2 separate regions of the Homo sapiens genome follow, and region 2 is linked to region 1. The links are contacts of gene promoters, found by promoter capture Hi-C in blood cells and fetal thymus (Javierre and others, 2016). All regions are on one chromosome and are shown on one strand. Each heading gives the region's core, a stretch centred on a gene start or on the middle of the fragment in contact. The rest is flanking DNA. Distances are from core to core; before and after follow the strand shown.

Region 1 (4,467 bases), core at 649-3,148:
ATAATTCACTTTCCTATCAGAACCAAGAAAGCACTCTAGTTCCCATTTTCCATTCTGCCCTAATAAAAACCCCCACAAGGAATATATATATATTTCAACATTTTCCACTGCTTCGGTTTAAGTTTAAATTGACTGAAACTTTAAAATCCAATTCTTTAATTACACTAGCCATATATGTGCTTAGTGTATTGGACAACACAGGTCTAGATGCTAGTTTGTAGTATAGTGTTTGTAGTATCGCCCTGTCAGGTGATACTGAGTTGCAGATTCACAAACCTGCAGCAGTCTAATACTGTTCAGAAAGACGAAACTGTGGTGGTCCTGATGGCCTCAAGTTCCAAATACAGTTTTGAACTAACTGACCCCTTCACCTATTTTTATCAAAACTTGCAGTGCAAATCAACGTTCAGTAGATTCAGCCCCACTAATGGACCTGCACAGTATCATGACAATGTTCACAACAATGTGCCCAGTGACCATCAAATTCTAAAGTAGTCTGTGAATTAGATTTCCGACTTCTATTTTGGTAGTTTTGTGTTTACTCTTTCAATAACTGAAAATAAACCACCACGGAAGAATCCTGAAAATACAAAGGCATCCTTATTCTCTCAGTCCTGAGAAAGTGTTAAAACTAGCCCATCCAGCAGCAACCTGGAATTTGGGCCTATGTGGTCCACACACTTCCAAATACCACAAGGAACTAGACTCACTTGTACGTCCAGGCACCGCCAGCCACTGTCTTCATGCAGGAACCACAGTGCCAGATCCCCACAGCTCGTCTCTTCATCTTGGTCTATAAAAGAGAACCAATTTTCACTATGAACCAAGTAAGTATTTTCTCTTACAAGCATCCAGAAGTCTAAATTTGGATTCACCTTATTGTCAGGGATGTGAAAGCCTCCCTTTCTCCCTCAAAAACAAAACAGGGATTGCTGTAATGCAGTATTTTGCACATAAACGTTCAAACCTTTATCAAACAAAAATCCCTCGCAGAACAAGTAGAATGGTATTAGATGCACAGACATCTTGGGAGTTGGTGCAGAAACATCAGTAGACAAAACTGATGGAATCATTTCCCACAAAGCAGGTTTGGCTTAGGCTGGGGGCACTCTGTCAAATGATTATTTTACCCATTAACGTTTAAGCGGTTTTCTTTAAATGAAAAACGTCTCACAAAATCTGAAGTTACCATCAACACTTTTATCTTAAAACTCATAATCAACGGTATGAGTAATTCCAACTGCCCACCAGCACACGGCTTATAAAATACCTTGAAGTCAGGCCTCACTTGGGTAAGAAACCTGCCCTCCCTCTCCTCTCACCAGAGACTTTGCCTTACTTACTTTGCCACAGAAAGAGCAAGTGTACTTGGCGTGCTGGCTGATTTCAATTTTCTTCACCATTTTCCGGAGGGAGGCCCCATAGCGGGTCCCGTATTTACCGACGATCCCGACTTTCTTGGTACGTTTGGCCTGTTTAGAGTGAAGGGAGAAACCAGTGATAGACCTGGAACCCAGGCAGGCCCTGGAGCCTCCACACACCGTTCCTCCACCTCACTGACGTGTGACCGACATGTGAATTACATATGACCTAGTTTTCCCTAAATTCAACCCAACGAAACCAGTGCCCAGGGCTGGCCGCGCGCTCCGAAGGCCCGGCGTTAACCCGGCTGGAGCGCGCCAGGCCCAGCCAAGGCGCCCCCGCCCCTCCGCCTTGGGGAGCTTCCGACAATGGTGTCTCCTGCAAAGGCATGGAGACAGGAGAGAACACGGGGTAAGGCAGGAGAGGAGATGGGTGCGGGAGAAGAAAACAAGGACAGATGCAGGCAGATAGAGTTCTAGGCCGCACAGAGACCCACACTCACCATGTCGCCGCGACCTAGGTCCGAGCCCAGAAAGGAAGAGACGCGGTGCGCAGGCGCGGTATTAGGCGGACGAGCGGAAGTGGCTGGTAGAGGCCTAGCTAGGAACTGAGCTCTATGGTTTGGGCGTTTTCAGGCGGCCTCCTGAGAAATGTTTGCAATTGTAAGGCGTCTCTCTCATCCAGGTTTACCCAGATTCGCAAACTATGGCGACAAACAACCATAGCAGAAGCATGTCCGGATTATTTCACATATATCACAAAATCCTGCAAAGGTACGAGTTCCTCCATTCGATGCACAGCACTTGGCTTGGAGAAGTGCATAAATCTTACATTTGTGGGGCCGGGCGCGGTGGCTCACGCTTGTGATTCTAACACTTTGGGAGGCGGGGTGGGTCAGGAGTTCGAGACCAGCCTGGCCAGCAGGGTGAAACCCCGTCTCTATTCCAAATCTCATTTATTTCCCCCTCTGCATTATGCTCTCTAAAAGTGGCTGACTGTGCAGGATGCTAGCGACAGTGGTGACTAAAATCCAAGGTTCCATTCCCAGAACAAGTTGCAGGCCAGCTGCAAACGATCATATAGCCACATTAAGAAGTTAGACAGTTTCAAACTGGTCAGAGTTCTGAAGGAAAGGACGATGGTTCTGCTCGCGACTAATTCAGAAGAGCCTGGTGTTTCCTGAGGAAAGTCTGAGATTGGAAGGCTGGGGAAAAGTTAACAGTCACCTTGGAGTTTTGTGTTCCAGCTGCTGCATCTCAGTGCGGATGGCCTGCCTTCCACTTCATTTCAGAACTCACTTCCATGGCCCCACACTAGGCTGTTAAGACAGCTTCCTGGTCCAGGCCTGAACCCTTAAACTCCAACATCTTACCCTTTACCCACCGTCAATTCTCTGTCCCTCCAGGTCTCTCAAAGGGGTCAGCAGGGAAGAATTGGATTTCTGGTTGAGGCCGGGGGTGGGGAGGGTGTGTTCTGGAACTAGACACATGATCTTCTTTCTTCACGTAGAACACACACACTAGGAAGTTTGGTTGCCTTTTTTCAGGGGATGGCTAATCCAGAGAATAAGAAGCTCAGAAAACTACTGGAATAAGAGTGTAAGAGAGAATCCATGATTAGAGGGCCAAGAAAGACCATGGGAGCTGAAAGGCATTGTGTGGCCCTGATTCCAATCAGAAGTCCGGTAACAAGTAGCTTCCGTTCCCAAAGCTTAATATTAACTGTCTCAAATAATTTTGCACCTGTTCACTTTTCCTCACAATTGTATTAAAGTCAACTTGCATACCTGGGCTGAGGTGGGAAGATCATTTGAGCCTGGGAGGTTGAGGCTGCAGTAAGCTGTCATCACGCCACTGCAGTCCAGCCTGGACAACAGAGTGAGACTCTGTCTCAAAAAATATATATGAATCAAATCAAATCAAAGCAACTTGCAAACAGCTATGTACTTCATATGGTTACAATTGTTGGAGGGTAACACATGGTAGGCACTGAGTATTTTATGTGGATGTTCTCATTTAATTTTCCATTATCCTTTATGATAGGAATGATTATTATCTTCATTACTAAGAAAAAGAGAGGAAGTCTCATGTAATGATTAGGAACTTAGAGGCTCTGGATTCAGTATGGGTTCAAAACAGAACTCTGCTATTTACCAGCTGTGGGACCTCTGACAAGTTATTATATACTTTTCTTTCTTTTTTCTTTTTCTTTTTTTTTTTTTTTTTTTTTTTTTTTTGAGACAGAGTCTCTCTTGGAAAAGATTCTTTGAGACCAGGAGTTCTAGGCAGCCTGGACAATATAGCGAGACCCCATCTCCACACACACAAAAAAATAATAGGCCAGGTATGGTGACACACATCTGTGGTTCTAGCTGCTCAAAAGGCTGAAACGTGAGGATTGCTTGAGCCCAGGAGTTCAGAGGTTACAGTGAGCTATGATCACACCATTTCACTCCAACCTGGACAACAGAGTGAGATCCTTTCTCAAAACAAAAACAAAAAAAGAAAGAAAAAAGAAACTCATCTCAGGGAAGTTAAGAAACTTGCTCAATGTCACACAGCAATTAGAACTCAAATCTGGTCTGTCTGATCCCAAAGTTAGTTCTCCTAATTGCTAGCTTGTACTACGCCAAATCATAATATTTAGTGCACTGAAAAAGCACATCAGAAAACATAGTTGAATTAAAATCAGGTCCCTGGCACTCAGTCTGGGCCAGGATCTGTAACTACCTTGTGGTTTGACTTTAGGTAAGCCACAGTCCCCACATGGAGAACCACCTCCCCACCTCCCAGCAGCCACCATCTTTATTTACAAGGAGCTGGACCAGGTGGTCTTCAAGGTCCTGTCCAGTTCTTCCCTCCTATGATTCCAGGAAGAGCTTCCAGACTTTGAGTGCCACTGGGGCAGTGACCCACCATGTGCTTTATGTCAGCACATCTTGCACAATTTTGTGGAATAAAGGTAGTTGTCTCTTTATCCTCCCCAATCTGTTATTCCAGCTCTGGCTGTGTAAATTCAAGGAGGAGAAAAAGCAAAAAGTAGTGGATAGTGGGAATAGTCAAATTGATTTTTGCATACATTTTTTGCATTTTCTAATTATCTTTT
Region 2 (4,467 bases), core at 980-3,479, 3.3 Mb after region 1:
TTCTTGCCAAAACCCTCTTGATTCTGAGATTTGCCTATCTACCTGGTCTCCACTTGCTGCTGAATCTCTCCTCATCATACAGCCAGTGTTTTGTAGGGTCTCCACGTCCCGCCCTAGCCTTCGCGAACCATGCAGTTGTTGAAATAACATTGACTTCAAATATCAGGGTCTACGCATGGGATGATGGTCTGCGGGTATAAAACTGAAAATGTTGTTGCAACAAGGCAAACAGGTCAGATGGGGGGAAAAGTGATGAAGTGTTGCATCACTTCAATAGTATATTTTCTTGACCAAATATAGTTGTCATGAAAATTAGCAGATTCAGAGAAAAAATATAGCTTAGACAACTGCTTGCTAATATCAGTTCTAAAAGCATGGTAAAAGTTTATTTCCCATAGGTCATTCAATGACATGTGCTTCTAAGTTAAGTGCCAGTATCTGTAACCAATATCTGTTCTAGGAGCTCTCATTTAAACAAGTGAAAATACATCAAAAGAACTGAAACAAATCAGCAGTCACCATTCAGGATTTATTTGTATTAATCTACTTAACTCAAAACACTTTTTTTCTTGATCTCTACTGTTTACTGCACCTATATCTTAAAAAACCATAAGCCATATACAACAAATACAATAGATAGGAATGTGTATAGCTGGCCAATATTAAAACATCAGGATTGCTTCACATCTGATACCTCTTATTGCAGCAAACCCTGCATCTTCAGTCACTTGCCAGTCATTTCTGATTGATTATTTTTAAAGTATGTATCTGATTTTTTAATCGTTTGTATATTTTTAACAATAGATTCTTAGAAATATAAACTTGTCTGTGTCTAAAAATATGGGTTCCTGGGTCTACAGAGTTAGAATATCCAAGCATGGATGAGAATTTGCATTAACAAACTAACCAAGTCATTCTGTTCTTATCTTTCACAGAGGTCACTGTAGAACAACTGTTGTTTTCATTTAGCCCCTCTGCCTAAAATGTTAGGAAAGCAAAACACTGGTGAACAGTGTTTGAGAAAAATGTAGACTAAATTTAAATACCTGTAAGCAGAGTATACCAACCTCTCATCTCAATTCCCACACCAACTTAGCAACTGCAGAGGTTACTTACATGCCTGGCTGCAGAGGCACTGGAATTTGCTACTGTTGACCTCAGTTATTAGGGGAAAATTATCATTACCTGTTGTAGAAAGATGCTAAGCATATAAGGCAGACAAGGTACTGTGCTGACTTATATTATTTAATTAAAGTAAGCTTTCTTTTCTTTATGTTCTGGAGATCTCCATAAGTTGGAAAGGCCACTGGTCAATGTTGTTTAAGAACAAGGATCATCTTTCAATTAAAATGTTTTCAATTATAGATAGACTGAGCTACATTGGCACAATGGTTTTAAGATAAAAGTAACACAGTTTTAAACACTAATCCATGAGATCTGAAAATAAATAAAATCACTCTTAAATGTTAGGCACTATTTTAGTATGTCAAACTTAAGTATGTTTATTGAGTTTTGAATATTCAATAAACTTTTTTTAATATCTACTATTTTTAGAGATTCAATAACCAAATAGTGTGGCAAAACAAATTCAAATGAAAAATGCATGCTATTTTTAATTTCTCTTGGGTTGTTGGGAGCGTATATAAATATATAATATATGTGTGTGTACATGTGTGTATAAATATATGTTTCACTTTTAAATGACTATTGATTTTCACCTAACAAATATTTCTCCAATTATATATTTTTTACGATGTCTTGATGCATATCTGTATATTCTATGCAATATGTATAAATAGGAGCCTTACAAAAATAACGATATTTTAAAGTATAAGTGTCCAAAAAGAATAGCCTGTGAGTACTAAGCAATGCTCTCTCAAAGGAGAGTTTTTTGTCTGTTTGTTTGTTTGTTTTTTGAAACGTAGCTTTGCTCTTGTTGCCCAGGCTGGAGTGCAGTGGTGCGATCTCAGCTCACTGCAACCTCCACCTCCCAGGTTCAAGAGATTCTCCTGCCTCAGCCTCCTGAGTAGCTGGGATTACAGGCATGAGCCACCATGCCTGGCTAATTTTTGTATTTTTAGTAGAGACGGGGTTTCACTATGTTGGTCAGGCTGGTCTCGAACTTCTGACCTAGCAAACCACCCACCTCAGCCTCCCAAAGTGCTGGGGTGACAGGCGTGAGCCACCGCACCCAGCCTCAAAGGAGAGTTTTACCTTTGAACATTCACTTATTTTGCAGGCTTAGTATTTTTTTTAAGTTAAAGTTAAAGTTAACCGAATGTTATTACATAAAGTCATATAAAAATAGAGCCAACAACTAACTAATAGTATTTGTCTTTTTTATTCTATTTTAAAATATGTAATTATTCTTAAATCAAAACTAAAATCCTGGCAACTAATATTGTTCTGTTATAAAAATAAGCCTTCATACTTGTTCCTGATTTCAAAATATGTAGAGTAAGAAATCCACCTCGGTTTTGTACCTATGTGAGAACTTGGTGTTTACATCTGTTTCTTTCATTTATTGACAACACGCATACTAGGAACAAACTGCTTCTCTTCTTTATGTGGATAGTTCATTCTAATCTGTGTAATAAATATGACCATTTTGTCTCATTTCATAATATTCTGAAACAATCTCCATTTTTCTAGTGTGAGTTATTTCTGGCTGTCCTTGTGTCAATAAGGCACATGATGGCTTGGTTTTAGAAAAACTAAACTTTCCAGTTTGGTAACTATAGAAAAGTTTAAAATGGAGTTATCTCAGGAGAAGGAATTACTTGTGTATTTTTGCAGCTTATGAACCTTAAGTGTGAATGAATTTGATATTCTGCCTTTAATATTATGGCACTTAGTCTTGAATTCTTAACATGGCTTTGGCAACACCCCAAGTCCCAGTGCAAAGGGTATTACACGTTTATCTGTTCCGATTTTAGGTTGAGCAACAAGACTGCTTTTGTTCAAAGAATAACTAACAGATGAGTAATAAAGTCACTTACCCAAAACCAGATTCCATTGTCAATAAGAGGAGATTTGGATTGTACAGTTTCATCTGACAACTATGTTGGAATTCAACTTTTTAGCAGAAGTCAGAAAGCAACTGTTCTTTCAACCAAACTGTTTTTTTCTCAAGAATACACCAGCAATCTCTGAAGCATTTTCATTTGACCACTTTTTTTAGAAGGGGCTCGTAAGCTTGTGTTATACTAAAGCTTAGCTCCTCAAGCAAACTGGTGTTTTCCCTTTTTGTTATCAGTAGAGGACTTTCATTGTTGCTTTTTTTCTTCAGTAGAGTTTTTGAAATCTGCAGGGGCTTTTCTGTTTTTCTTTTGTTTTGCTCTTTTTTGCTTTTTTTTAAAGAAAGTTTTTAAATGTTCATTTAGTAATGGAGTCAAAGTGGAACCAGGAAGGCAATTCTTAAAAAAAAAAAAATTGTCCAAAACTAAAATTCCTGACCTTAATGGAAAATAAAAAATTTTACCATTAAATCATGAGACAAATGCAGTTAGGATATATCAGCTATCAAAGTGCAGAAATCAAGTCTCCATGAGAAATAAACCTTTGCTGCTGGGTATGTAATAATAAATTTATTTATATTATATATTTATTTCTCATGAAAATGCCTACTGCTTAGATAGGGGTACATTGATACTAATTTCTGTGTAGCACTCTTGGTGGGTTCCTCCCAATTCGGCAGACTTAGCACTTCTCCTCAATATAGGAATAAATTTTAAGATAAAATAGATTAAAATATTTTCAATTTTTCTTCTCTCATGGAGACATCTACAATGCTGCCCATGTAGGGCAGCTGGTTAGGAATACATGTTTACTAGACTTATATTTGTACAATTCTCAACTTCAGTTGTTACAGTAAATTAACAATTGCCCCAGCCAAAAAACTATTTTCTCTGTTATGATTTTTCTGTACTTTTTAAACAGATTTCTCTGCCTAATTTTATACACATTTTCTGTTGCCTTCCCAGTCATTTTTTCTTTTTTTCCCAGAAACAATTCTTTCTAATAAATTTTGACTTTCACATAATTATGCTGATTTGGGGTGTCATGTTTCTACAAGGTACCTTTCTCGTGAACTCCAGCATCCACGACAGCCTGCTGTCTTCTCTCCATGGTATTCTGAACAAGTCACCAACCTTGGTCTCTGATAAACAAAACTGAGGCTTAAACTGCCTTTTATTTCACTTTTATTTCACTTTTATTTCACAAAAGGCTCTTTTTAGCCTAATTCCTTATAGTCCATATTCTAATATTATTTCTCAATTTTAAACCTTTTCCTATAATCCAGAGTCAAAGTATTATTTCCAGTTTCTAACTATAAAGTAACTCTAATTGCTTTTTTGCATATGCAGTAATTAGGAAGTGTTTAGAACATGGTGTTTTAGCACATATGATGAAAATTTAAAAACAATCTTGACTTAAATCTAGAATGTTTTTCAAGACAAGTATAAC

The links. Contacts are between HindIII fragments. The CHiCAGO score rates a contact against its expected background, and 5 or more counts as called.
Region 2: a fragment that was not itself captured here is called in contact with the fragment with the promoter of RPL37A in region 1 in 1 of 17 cell types (total B cells); the score reaches 5.4 in total B cells.

The regions. Positions count from the first base shown.
Region 1 is chr2:216,496,275-216,500,741 of GRCh38, reverse strand. RPL37A (ribosomal protein L37a) reads right to left here and starts at 1,898. Exons shown (of 4, transcript NM_000998.5): 1 at 1,865-1,898; 2 at 1,344-1,472; 3 at 711-793. The coding sequence starts at 1,867. RPL37A-DT (RPL37A divergent transcript) reads left to right here and starts at 1,990. Exons shown (of 4, transcript NR_183317.1): 1 at 1,990-2,135. RefSeq lists enhancers at 1,822-2,211, 2,392-2,481. The HindIII fragment of the contact is 3,327 bases long and covers 1-3,074 here.
Region 2 is chr2:213,237,616-213,242,082 of GRCh38, reverse strand. No RefSeq gene overlaps it. Among named protein-coding and RNA genes, the nearest start is that of SPAG16-DT, 44 kb to the left of the region's middle. The HindIII fragment of the contact is 1,936 bases long and covers 1,262-3,197 here.